Regions from separate parts of the Homo sapiens genome. Here region 1 is linked to region 2. Evidence: promoter capture Hi-C in human tissues and cell types (Jung and others, 2019). All regions are on one chromosome and are shown on one strand. The core of a region is centred on a gene start or on the middle of the fragment in contact, and the rest is flanking DNA. Distances in the headings are between cores, read along the strand shown. Region 1 overlaps DOCK3 (dedicator of cytokinesis 3). Region 2 holds the start of DOCK3 (dedicator of cytokinesis 3).

Region 1 (5,281 bases), core at 399-2,898, 660 kb after region 2:
ATATCATGAGAGGAGTATGGATTTTCAACATCCTTTTCTTTCAAAGAAGTCATCCCAAGGTTCTTCCTCTGCATGATGGGAAGGTGGGGAGAACTGGGTTTGTCAAATGACCATCCAGAGGCTCAGTGACTTGGCCTAGGGACCCTGACTCCCAGCTGTACTGCTCTTCACTGGGCCCTGTGCCTGCCAGTGGAGCAAAGCCAAAGACACTCTCCAACCTGACCCTAGAAATCTGTATAAACCCCTTTCTGCAGCTTTTCCCCAGAGCTGCTAATACACAGCTGCACAAGAAACTAGATCTTCTCCATAGCAGTGTGGGCTGCTATGGAAGGAGACACATCAGGCAGATGGCACTCTGGCTGGCATAGGAGATGTCTTGCTGGATTCACCAGTCTGGTTCTCATTCTCCTTCATCTCCTTGTGCCAGGCTTCTGCTCCTTTCCAGAGGAGCTTGGCTTTGACCAACCCTCTCCCTATCTTGGAAAAGATCCATTCTCAGTGTTCCTATTTTCCTATCTCTCACAGGCCATCCCTGACCCCTCCTACACCCAGACCCTGCTAGGTATGAATGCAGCTCAGTCCTGGCTGATGCTTTAAGCACGAGACCTGCTGCTTCTGGTGATAGATGGCTCCAAACACTAGTACACAGGAAGGAAACCATAGGGAGAAATGTCAACTAGGTGGTGAACATGTACAGAGCCCTGAAGCTAGGGCCCTGAAGTGGAGGGTCTTGGCTTCTATTCAGCACTCCTACAAAATGAAACCTGCCCTTTAAGGAGAATTCTGTGCCTCCCTTTTTGGGAAGTTGAGGATTTGGCCTTCCACTTAATTCATATACCCTTTTGTGCCAAGGACATTGGTAGGTGCCACTTAATACCCTGATGTAGCTCTGGGCTCTCTCTGTGCTCTGCCACCAGAATAAGGGGCTCAGTTGAACAGAGATCTTTGAGCCCTGAGAGTGGTTCCAAAGCTAAAGGAGCTCACAGTAGAGTCCTTATCTATGGAAGCAGTTCCTGTTGGAGGCCATCTCAATCTGGGATTTGGTCATACTAATGCCCCAGTGATAGTACAGTTCTATGTGTTGTCTCAAGGCCCCACTTCATATCTGGTGCTCATCTGTGCTCTCTCTTCCAGGGACTGCATGAAAGGAGAGGAAACAGAGAATAAGAAGATAGGCTGCACTGTTAACCTGATGGTGAGAGGACATGGGCCCTGACTTCTCTCTGCCTACTGAAATGGTTTCTGTCCTGCACTGTGATTGGCTTGGCCCTTCTACAATACATGGCTGCAGGCCTAAGGGTTTGAATCAGGACATCAGCTCTGTTACTGGTATCTTAGAGGCCTGCACTCCCCCAAACACATTCCTACTTGGGGAAGGAATGAAACGAGCTTCTCTTTGGATAGAACTCTAGCCTGGCCTCTTGGCAAGGACCCACTAACCCTGACATACCCAATTCACAGTCAACCCTGACTCCTGATCTGCCCTGATGCTTTTCCTCTTAACACTACCCAGGGCTCCCATAGACCTGCCAGTGGTTCCACCCACAGCAGGTGTTCCTTCTGGCTGGTGCTTTCTCCTTCTGGTGCTGTCTGCCTCCAGGGCCTGCCCTCCCCCTCCTGCCCAGCACACCCACGGCTATGGCCAGCTGCCCAGAGCTTGGCTATGGCTTCCACAGGTAGTTGACAGGTGTTTCCTTCTCTTTATTGTAGAATTTTTACAAATCTGAGATTAACAAGGAAGAAATGTATATCCGCTACATCCATAAGCTTTGTGACATGCACTTGCAGGCCGAAAACTACACAGGTAAGTGGGGAGAAGAGAGAGCCATGCCTGACCATGAGGACAAACTGAAGGGATTTGTACAATAGGCAGAGAAAGGCTTCAGGCTGGTGCCTGCCAGATCTCAGCAGAATGTTGGGGCTTGTGCTATCCCCTCACCTCACTCATTTCCCTCAACTCCTTTGTGGCACATGGTAGAGAGAAAGCAGGCAGAACTTCCACTTGTGCCTTTGTGCCATGTCATCCACTACTTGAGTCTGTTTCACTCTTCTTCCCTCCTATCCACCCCTCTGAAGTCTCAAGGGTGACCTCCAAATTCTGGTGCACCAGGTTCAGAGCATCCTGAGCTCACTGTCACTCCTTATGAACAGAGAGCCTTTTTTAGGACTTTCAAAGCTGGAGCTAAGGTTATAACAAAGGAATATCCCCCTAACCCTGGAACTTCCAGAACTCACTAGCAGACCTTCCTTGCAGGCTAGGCTCTTCAGACCCTGCAACTGCATAGCAGCCTCACATTGTGCACTCAGTGTAGAGTATAAAGAATGTTCATCTGACTTCTTGACAGGCCAGATAGGGCTCCTTTCATTGTATCTACAATTTAATCCAATATCAAGGCCTTTTCTAACTAGAACAAATTTTAAAGCATTTCAAAGTGGCTGTCACATCTGTTTACTGAGAACCACGCTGAATCGGGGTTACGTGCATGCATGTGTGTCCTATCTGATTGACTTATGCCATCGTTCCCCCCAAAGAGCCATTTTCTCCACTGTGGTGACCAGCCATTATGTCTTAGCTCTTAGGCGATAGGACTTGAATTTGTGTGATAGATCAGGAAATTTAAGCTATCCTTGTCTGCAAACGCTACTGCAATTAGATAGATTTGTAGAAACAGAGAATCCTCCTTCTTTATCTCTAGCCGTTAGAGAGTGTTTGGCATAGATGGTATCTTATCTGATAGCATAGCTTGGCAAGAATTAAATCTAAAATGACTGGGCTTTGAATCTTAAATTCAGCTGACTAATAAAATAAAATGACTGGGCTGAGTCTACCATTCTCTGCATCCACTTGCACCCATGATCCCAGCAACCCTCTGAGAGGGCATTGAAGAGAAAGACTTTGATAAATGTTATGTATCAGTAGAAGCATTTGCTAAACTCCTAGGAAACGGGGCCATGACTGAGAGGCTGGGTCAGGGATTTTAACAGAGAAAGAGTGCTAAGCCTTGTCTCTGATGGCTCAGGGAATGACATCTGAAAAGAATATAGGCAAGGAAGAAAAAGACGTTCCATGGTTTCCTAAGCTCCAGAGGGAGGCCCTGAGTTCCACAGGGCTTGTCCCTAGAGAGAAAAGGCTTCCTGATCCCATGAGGAGGCGTGTACATTCCTTGGCAGGAAGTTCCAGTGGCAAGGGCACAGGCAAAAAGGCAAGGATGAGGAGGAGCCTAAAGAGTGGACACAGGCAAGTGGGCCTAGCTAAAACTGGAAGTGGGTCAATAAATGGTTAGAAATGAGATTCTTCATAGTCATGGGGAGTAGATTTGAGTAGGGCCTTGAAAGCCAGGCAGAAGCACAGAAGCTAGAACTAACTAACTTGCCAGTAGGAGATGCCCACTAAAAATGAACAAATAGAACAGAGAGAAAACTGTGTAATGAGGCCCCTGAGCCGTGGCTGTGATTCAGTATGACTCATCCCTTGGAATGTAGGGAGCCATGGTATTTCACTGCTGTTGTTTTACATAACCTTCTCTAATTGTTCCACACATAGAGTAAGATGTTGCCAGGCCTTCACTCTGGGTCTAGTATCAATTTAGGTTCCTTTGGTAATGGAGCCCTAAGAGCCAGTTCTGAGAAGGTTGGAAAGGAAGCTGTAGTCAGTTGAGCAAAAAGGAACCCAAGAGCTCTCTCTGATGTGTCAATGTCTCCCAAAGCAAGGCAGCCTGTGCACAGATTTTTGGGTAGCTGAACCATTCTTTATTAATCTGGAGGCTGGAACAGGTGACCAGGCCATGGAAGGAAGGTGTCTACCAGAATATTTGGCTCCTTCATGCTGTGGACAAGGGTTATTGGCTTGTTGAGCAGCCCTACTGTTTCATCTTTAGTATCCAGTGTCCCCGACCTGGGCTGCACATGACTTGCGCTGGCATTCTGCCCAGCATAGTCCTCTGACACCAGGCTGCTCCTGGGCCTCTGAGCAAGGGAAGCCCCTGGACCTCCATGCTGTCTGTCCCCACAGAGGCCGCATTTACCCTGCTCCTTTACTGTGAGCTGCTGCAGTGGGAGGACCGGCCACTACGGGAATTCCTCCACTACCCATCGCAGACAGAGTGGCAGCGGAAGGAGGGACTGTGCCGGAAGATCATTCACTACTTCAACAAAGGCAAGGTATGCATCATTAGGCAAGCCCTTTAGCCCTTCAGCTTCTGCTGTGATGCATGGCATCTTGACACCATAGGGTTAACAGCAGCTGCAGGGGGTAGTGTGTGGGGTGGTGAGTGGGTGGGTGCCTATCTATGTGCCTAAGATGTGGAGGCAGCATGATTTTCTCTGAGGGAGAAAAAGACAACAGCCTAATTCTGTGGCTTGAAAGCCATATCCAGATTGTAGGTGTTAGAGACTACCCTACATACTAGCTTTGCATATCTATAAATATGAATGCTTCTACAGCAGGGGCTTCTGGAACCCTGTTTGTTTTTATTGGATTTACTTAAAGAACTGATACGGCTTTCTAATCTGCTGCCATATAAAATATGAGTGGTAGAAATGAATGGATTTTAACCACAGCCAAAGGCGGCCTAAACTGCCTCTTACTGGTATGTGTTCTTTTCTTAGATTTCCCTTCTCTACAGCACAGCCTGGGCTCCTCTCATATTGGGGTTATTTTCCATCAAACTACTTTCTATGGGATTGGCAGCATTGTCAGCACTGGTTTAGGCTTCCTTGGGACTTCCCAGCCATTCTCCTCCCATCTCTGGGAGAGCTCTGTGTGGCGCCCTCTGACTACCTACTGTTAGATGGGGCCCTTGTGCTGGAAAAACTTGTTGAAGCCATTTTCTCATTACTAAGCTTTGAGCACATTTTAAAGCTGAAATAGGGTCATTCATGGAACTGTAGTAGCTGAGCCCCCAACTCAAATGGAAATTGGTTTTTGAGATGAGTTTTTTCATCAAAAAGAAAGATTTAAACATTAATGGCTTTTGTCTATAAATCAGAAAACATTCTTCAGTTTTACATAACATGGGGGACTTCTATGTTTGTCAAAAATATTCACTCAGAAAACATTTCCCCATACAGAGAATGCACTGGTAAGCAAGAACCTTTCCAAAAGCGCAGAAACTCTTATGTAACCTAGCCCAGAAAGGATGCCCATGCTCAGCTCTCAGCCAGCCCATGCAACTGATCCACAATGCTGACCCAAAGCCTCTGGTCCTTGCTGATCCAGCGCCTGACACAGAGCCCCTCACATGCAGTTTTAGGCCTATTTTCCTGGCACCTGGCTAACCTG
Region 2 (4,834 bases), core at 2,232-4,731:
TGAGCATCGTGTGCCACTTATCCACTGCTTGCCGACTTCAGTAGCAAGAGCCTCCAGAATGCTCATGGATAAACATCATCTTTGTGGCCACACATTGTTTTATGAGCTGAGTCATCAGACTGGCTGGCTCCTTAAATGCTGCTGTGTGATTCTCTAGGCAGCAGAAAACAAGGAGAGAAGATATGAAGTGTATCTCATCGAGCTTTGTAGAGGGCCAGTATCATTCACCAAAGGTGATGGGGGATTTACCATTATGGAGTTTGCTTGTGATAAAAAATTATTGATCAACTTAAACTCTAAGAGAAAAAGATGATGCTGTCTGCATTTCTTGTAAATTATTTATAAAATTTGTTTGGGTATCGGCTATTTTTAACAGCCACCAGTCTTAACGAATTTCCTGCAGAAAACTTGATTCCTTCCTTGCTCATCGAGTTGCAATTTATCATCTAAGGTAATGAGTTAAACCCAAAAGTAACAGTGACATGATAAGTGAAACTGTTTGCATACTTTGTTTTTTAAATTGCTCTATCATGTTTATCTTTTTTATAGCTACTCAATAAGACATTGCAATGAATTTTTAATTAAAACCAATATGTCTATAACAAAGAAATTTAATTAATTAGAGTTTCTGAGTTTGCCGATTTGTGACTTGCTGAGGTAAACATCTCAGTTCTCTCTTCCAACCTATTTCATTATGGTCTCAGAAAACGTACAGGGAGATTATTCACCCAAGAGTGTATGTTAAATTCATGTTAGGTGGTAGGCACTATGTTAGTCTCTGTGTAAGGTAAAAATAATTGAAGAACAATCCTTGTCACTGAAGAAAAAAACAGATGTTTGCCAATGTGAGAAGCAGACCCATTTGATCTCTTGGAGAAGGGTGGAATGAGTAAGTGCTACAGAAAAGGTCATAATGGGTGCAAAAAATCCAGCTGAACTGAGGGCAGTTGGGGAAGCCTTCTTCAGGAAAGTGGCCCTGAGACAGCTCTTGAAGCATGATGCAGATGTGTGGGTTTCAAGAGTAGAGGACACAAGCTGAGGGACACTCTATGCAAAAACCCAGCCAGAACAAGGCAATGGTCTGAAGTTGGGATGGCCCTGGGGAATTCTGGGAAAGTAGTTTCCAGGAGGTGACAGGGTCAGAACGCAGACCTTCAGGTGGTGAGAATCAAATGAATTACATTGAAATAAAAGGATTTGGAATGGATGATTCTCCTCTGTAGTCAGATGGAGAGAGGAGGAAGAGAGAGGGAATGGGGGGATGAGGGTACCAACAGGGCAGGTCTTCCTGGGACCGCAGGAGTCTGTGGAGCAGGTCAGGGTGAAAATGGGAGACAGGGCAATGATAGTTGGGGATCCTGAGAAGTAGCAGGCAGTGAGCCTGGTGGTGGCGAGAACACAAAGAAGAGCAGTTGGAGAGGAGGGGAGGTTACTGTGCTGAGGGTCTCGATTTTCAGAGGCAAGCTGGAAGGCAGCTCATATGCTGAGAGAGTGTGTGTGTGGTGTGTTGAGTGGACTGGGAGCCTGAGGAAGGAAAGGATCAGAGCAGATGCTAGGGGGATAAGAGAGCAGGTGCATGGTCCTGCTGAAGGCCAATGTGTGCTATGCCCTTTTGCTTCAACTCACAAAAACAATCTAAATTTATACAAACAGCAAGAGTGTAGGAGTCCAGGCTTACTAAGTCCCTTCCTTCTCACTTTGGTCCCTTCTTTTCCCTTCCCTGGTTGGGTTTAATGCCCTTCCACCCTGGAGCTGAGGTGTGCAATCATGGAGAATTTTCTTCATCTGGGAAAGCCATAATCTAAGATGGATTCAGACTGGGAACAAGAGTATAAACTTTGGAAAAACTGGCCCTTAGGCTCTGTGACTGTCATCACATACAGCAGACAAGGGAGTGAACTTAGAGGATGAAATAAGAGCTTTAAGGTTGTTCCCTGAAGGCCTGCGTAGCTCAGCCCCACTTGTTGAATAGCTACCTGGAGAGTTTTGTAAGAATGTGGCTTCATTCCATAGAATACTTCCATGGTGGCCACCGGGGAGGGGTCTATCTTCTTGGAACAGTTAGCTCTTTCGTTATGTTCTTGGACACCCCTGCTACCCCTAAAAAGAAGTGTACCTGGCTATTGAGAAATTCTATCATTCACAGAACAGACATTTTTCTGGGCGGGAGTGGGCAGCTATGATTAGTGAGAGGAGGAGCCTAAAGGTCCGAAGGTGGGAAGGGGTGGCCATAACCCAGGGGAGCACAGTCAGGCCTGGGAGGAGTTACCAATCATGACACTTTGAACGAAGAATCAACAAGATCTGTTGATTGCAAGATATTCTTCTATTAGTCTGGCTTCCCATGCAACAACTATACAACAGGTGCTGGGTTGGTGGTGAGGGTTTAGAAAGTTGATTTTAGCCTGGAGCTTGCCTTCTGGGAGCTGACAGTCTTATAAGGGAAATAAGACAAACCGAACATAGCTCCAATTCCAGACAAAGAAGGAAAGGAGACTATGGGTCAGGGCAGGCTTCCTGGAGGTGAGGGGCTGAGCTGGGCTTTGAAGAGTGGTGGTGTCTGAGAGTGCTAGTGAAGGATGACACCAGGGTTTTGACTTAGTAGTGCTAGTGACAGAGATGGGCAAATCTGCTGGGATTAGAGCATGTGGTCCAAATGTAGGTGGAAAGGAGAAGTCCTGCAGTTCCTGTTCTTTGGTAAGTGGTTGACTTGGGGGTCACAAGGTGACATTTACAGGCATCAGAATGAATGGATTCTTAGGGAGGAGAGAGAGGAGGAAAGTTTCCGGTAGGAGCCAGTTCTTAGGGCTCCAAGGGAGGCAGACACCCAGGAGCAGCAGATGCCGTGTCCTGGGTAGGAACACGAAGGGCCCAATGAAGCTCTTCCTTACTAGCAAGGCGGCTGTTGATTGTTCTGGCCCCAAACATTCACCACTCAGGCCATCTCAGAGAAGCAAGAACCCAGGAGGTGTCAGCGGCCTCAGCCCACAGGGGATCCAGGAGAGAGGGGCACGAGTGCACCCCACCTGGTTCCCTCGTGGCGACTCCATCCTGCGGGCCCTGGGAATGCACAGGGTGGCTCCGGGGACCTTTCCGACAGCACTGTGGGTGACACTGGGATGGGTCTGAAAATGGTGTCGTGTCCTCCTTTTCTGGATCTCCCCTCTCCGACCAGGAGGCCTGTGGCCATCTCGGGGCGCAGGCAGGAGGCACTGGAAGCGGAAGCGAGTGGGGAGTCCGGGTAGAGGGAGTCGCCCACCTGACCGGCTTCGCCCCCTCCGGGGTTTGCTGCAGCTGAGGGCCCCGGACCAGCGATTCTAGAAGCCGGTCCGGGGCCGGGCAGTCCAATAGCTTCTCGCGGATTTCCCTCCGCTGGCGCGCAGCAGCGGCGCGTGGATTCGCGCGCGGGCTCGGGACGGCGCGAGCCCGGGCAGCGCGAGCCCCTGCGCGGCAGGGAGTGGCGCATGCGCGGGCGTCCTGCGAGCCCGCTGGGGCGAGCCGAGCCGCGGCGGCGCCGGGAGCCGGGCGGCGGAGCTGTGAAGAAGCAAGCGGCGGCACGGGAGCAGCGGCGACGGACAGGTGGCGAGCCTTCGCCCGCGCCGCCAGGGGCTGCTGGGCCACCCGCGGAGCCTCGCGGTCCAGACGTGGCGGGGGTGGCGGCGGCATCCCGGACGGCCTGTGAGGGATGCGCCGCCCACTGCCCCGCGCCGCCTGACCGTCCCCGCCTCGACTCGCGGTGCGCCACAGCCGGGCCCGCGGCCGTCCCCGCCGCGTTGTCGCCCGGTCGCCGCGCCCGCGGGGCCGCGCCCGGCACGGCCATGTGGACCCCCACGGAGGAGGAGAAATACGGCGTAGGTAGGTGAGGCTCAGGCCTGGCCGTGGCGGGGGTTCTGGGGGACGCGCCCAGCTCCCGGCCCCGCCTGGATTCGCATCCTCGTGCCCCCGCCACTGCCCGCAGGCTGCGCGGCCTCGGCGCGGGGCGAGCGCGGGGTGGGGGCAGGTGCGGGTGCGGGTGCGGGTGCGGGGGTGGGCGCGGGTCTCTGTGCAGAGAGGGCGGCAGGGGGCGCTGGCGGTGCGGCCTTGGCAGGTGCGGCCCGCGGGAGGGGTGGGCAAGGCCCGGGCAGTTGCCCGAGGTTTCTGGTGTGGGCCACGGGGCAATTTTACCCGATAAACCAAATTCTGGGAATATGTTTTCTCCCCTCCAAAAGCTCGATTTTAATGAGTTTCCGCACCTGAATTGATGAGCCCGATGGCTGTTTATTTTTGATCTGGAACCTTACAAGAAAACGGATGAAAAACGTTGACATCATTTTCCCAGTTCAAAAATTTGGACATTTGACTGCAAATGTTTGATCTGTTTTAATTTGTTTTGCCTTTAGTATTAGAAATAATACCTTACGATGGGAAATGTTTTTGGACATGTATCAATGTTTATACGGTTTTTTTTTTAAACCCTGTTTTCAGATGAGACCTTATTCCTCTTAGAAACCTTTTTTTAATGTTGTAAGTGTTAAACTCCAGAAGCTAAATAATTCTTACAATATTCAACTTCTTTAAAAAGAATATTCAGTAATTTAAAGTATTGAATGTTTTACAATGTTAGTGTTTTGTGGCAATTACATGATAGAGTTAAGCCTCATTGCATCACCTATCATCTTGTTCAGTTAGAAACAGATTTAAAATGTTGAGTGTACAGGTTTTGTTTTTCCTAAGCTCGTAATGGAAAATTTTAGATAGGAAACCTGTCTAAACATAGATTTTTGTTTCCCATCTTTACCGCAATTTAATCAAGATTTAGTTCACAATTCACTACAAAATAACTTGAAACTGCAGT

The links. The method cuts DNA at HindIII sites, captures the fragments that hold promoters and counts their contacts. A contact is called where the count stands out against the background at its distance.
Region 1: a contact is called between a fragment that was not itself captured here and the fragment with the promoter of DOCK3 in region 2, in 1 of the 25 tissues and cell types used here (spleen).

Annotation. Positions count from the first base shown.
Region 1 is chr3:51,337,225-51,342,505 of GRCh38, forward strand. It overlaps DOCK3 (dedicator of cytokinesis 3), which reads left to right. Exons shown (of 53, transcript NM_004947.5): 36 at 1,135-1,195; 37 at 1,711-1,804; 38 at 4,013-4,161. Among named protein-coding and RNA genes, the nearest start is that of MANF, 45 kb to the right of the region's middle. RefSeq lists an enhancer at 2,645-3,529. The HindIII fragment of the contact is 3,312 bases long and covers 1-3,304 here.
Region 2 is chr3:50,671,446-50,676,279 of GRCh38, forward strand. It overlaps DOCK3 (dedicator of cytokinesis 3), which reads left to right and starts at 3,482. Exons shown (of 53, transcript NM_004947.5): 1 at 3,482-3,855. The coding sequence starts at 3,819. It overlaps MIR4787 (microRNA 4787), which reads left to right and starts at 3,635; the gene lies at 3,635-3,718. It overlaps LINC02019 (long intergenic non-protein coding RNA 2019), which reads left to right. Exons shown (of 2, transcript NR_183733.1): 2 at 1-606. RefSeq lists a silencer at 3,446-3,735. The HindIII fragment of the contact is 18,901 bases long and covers 1-4,834 here.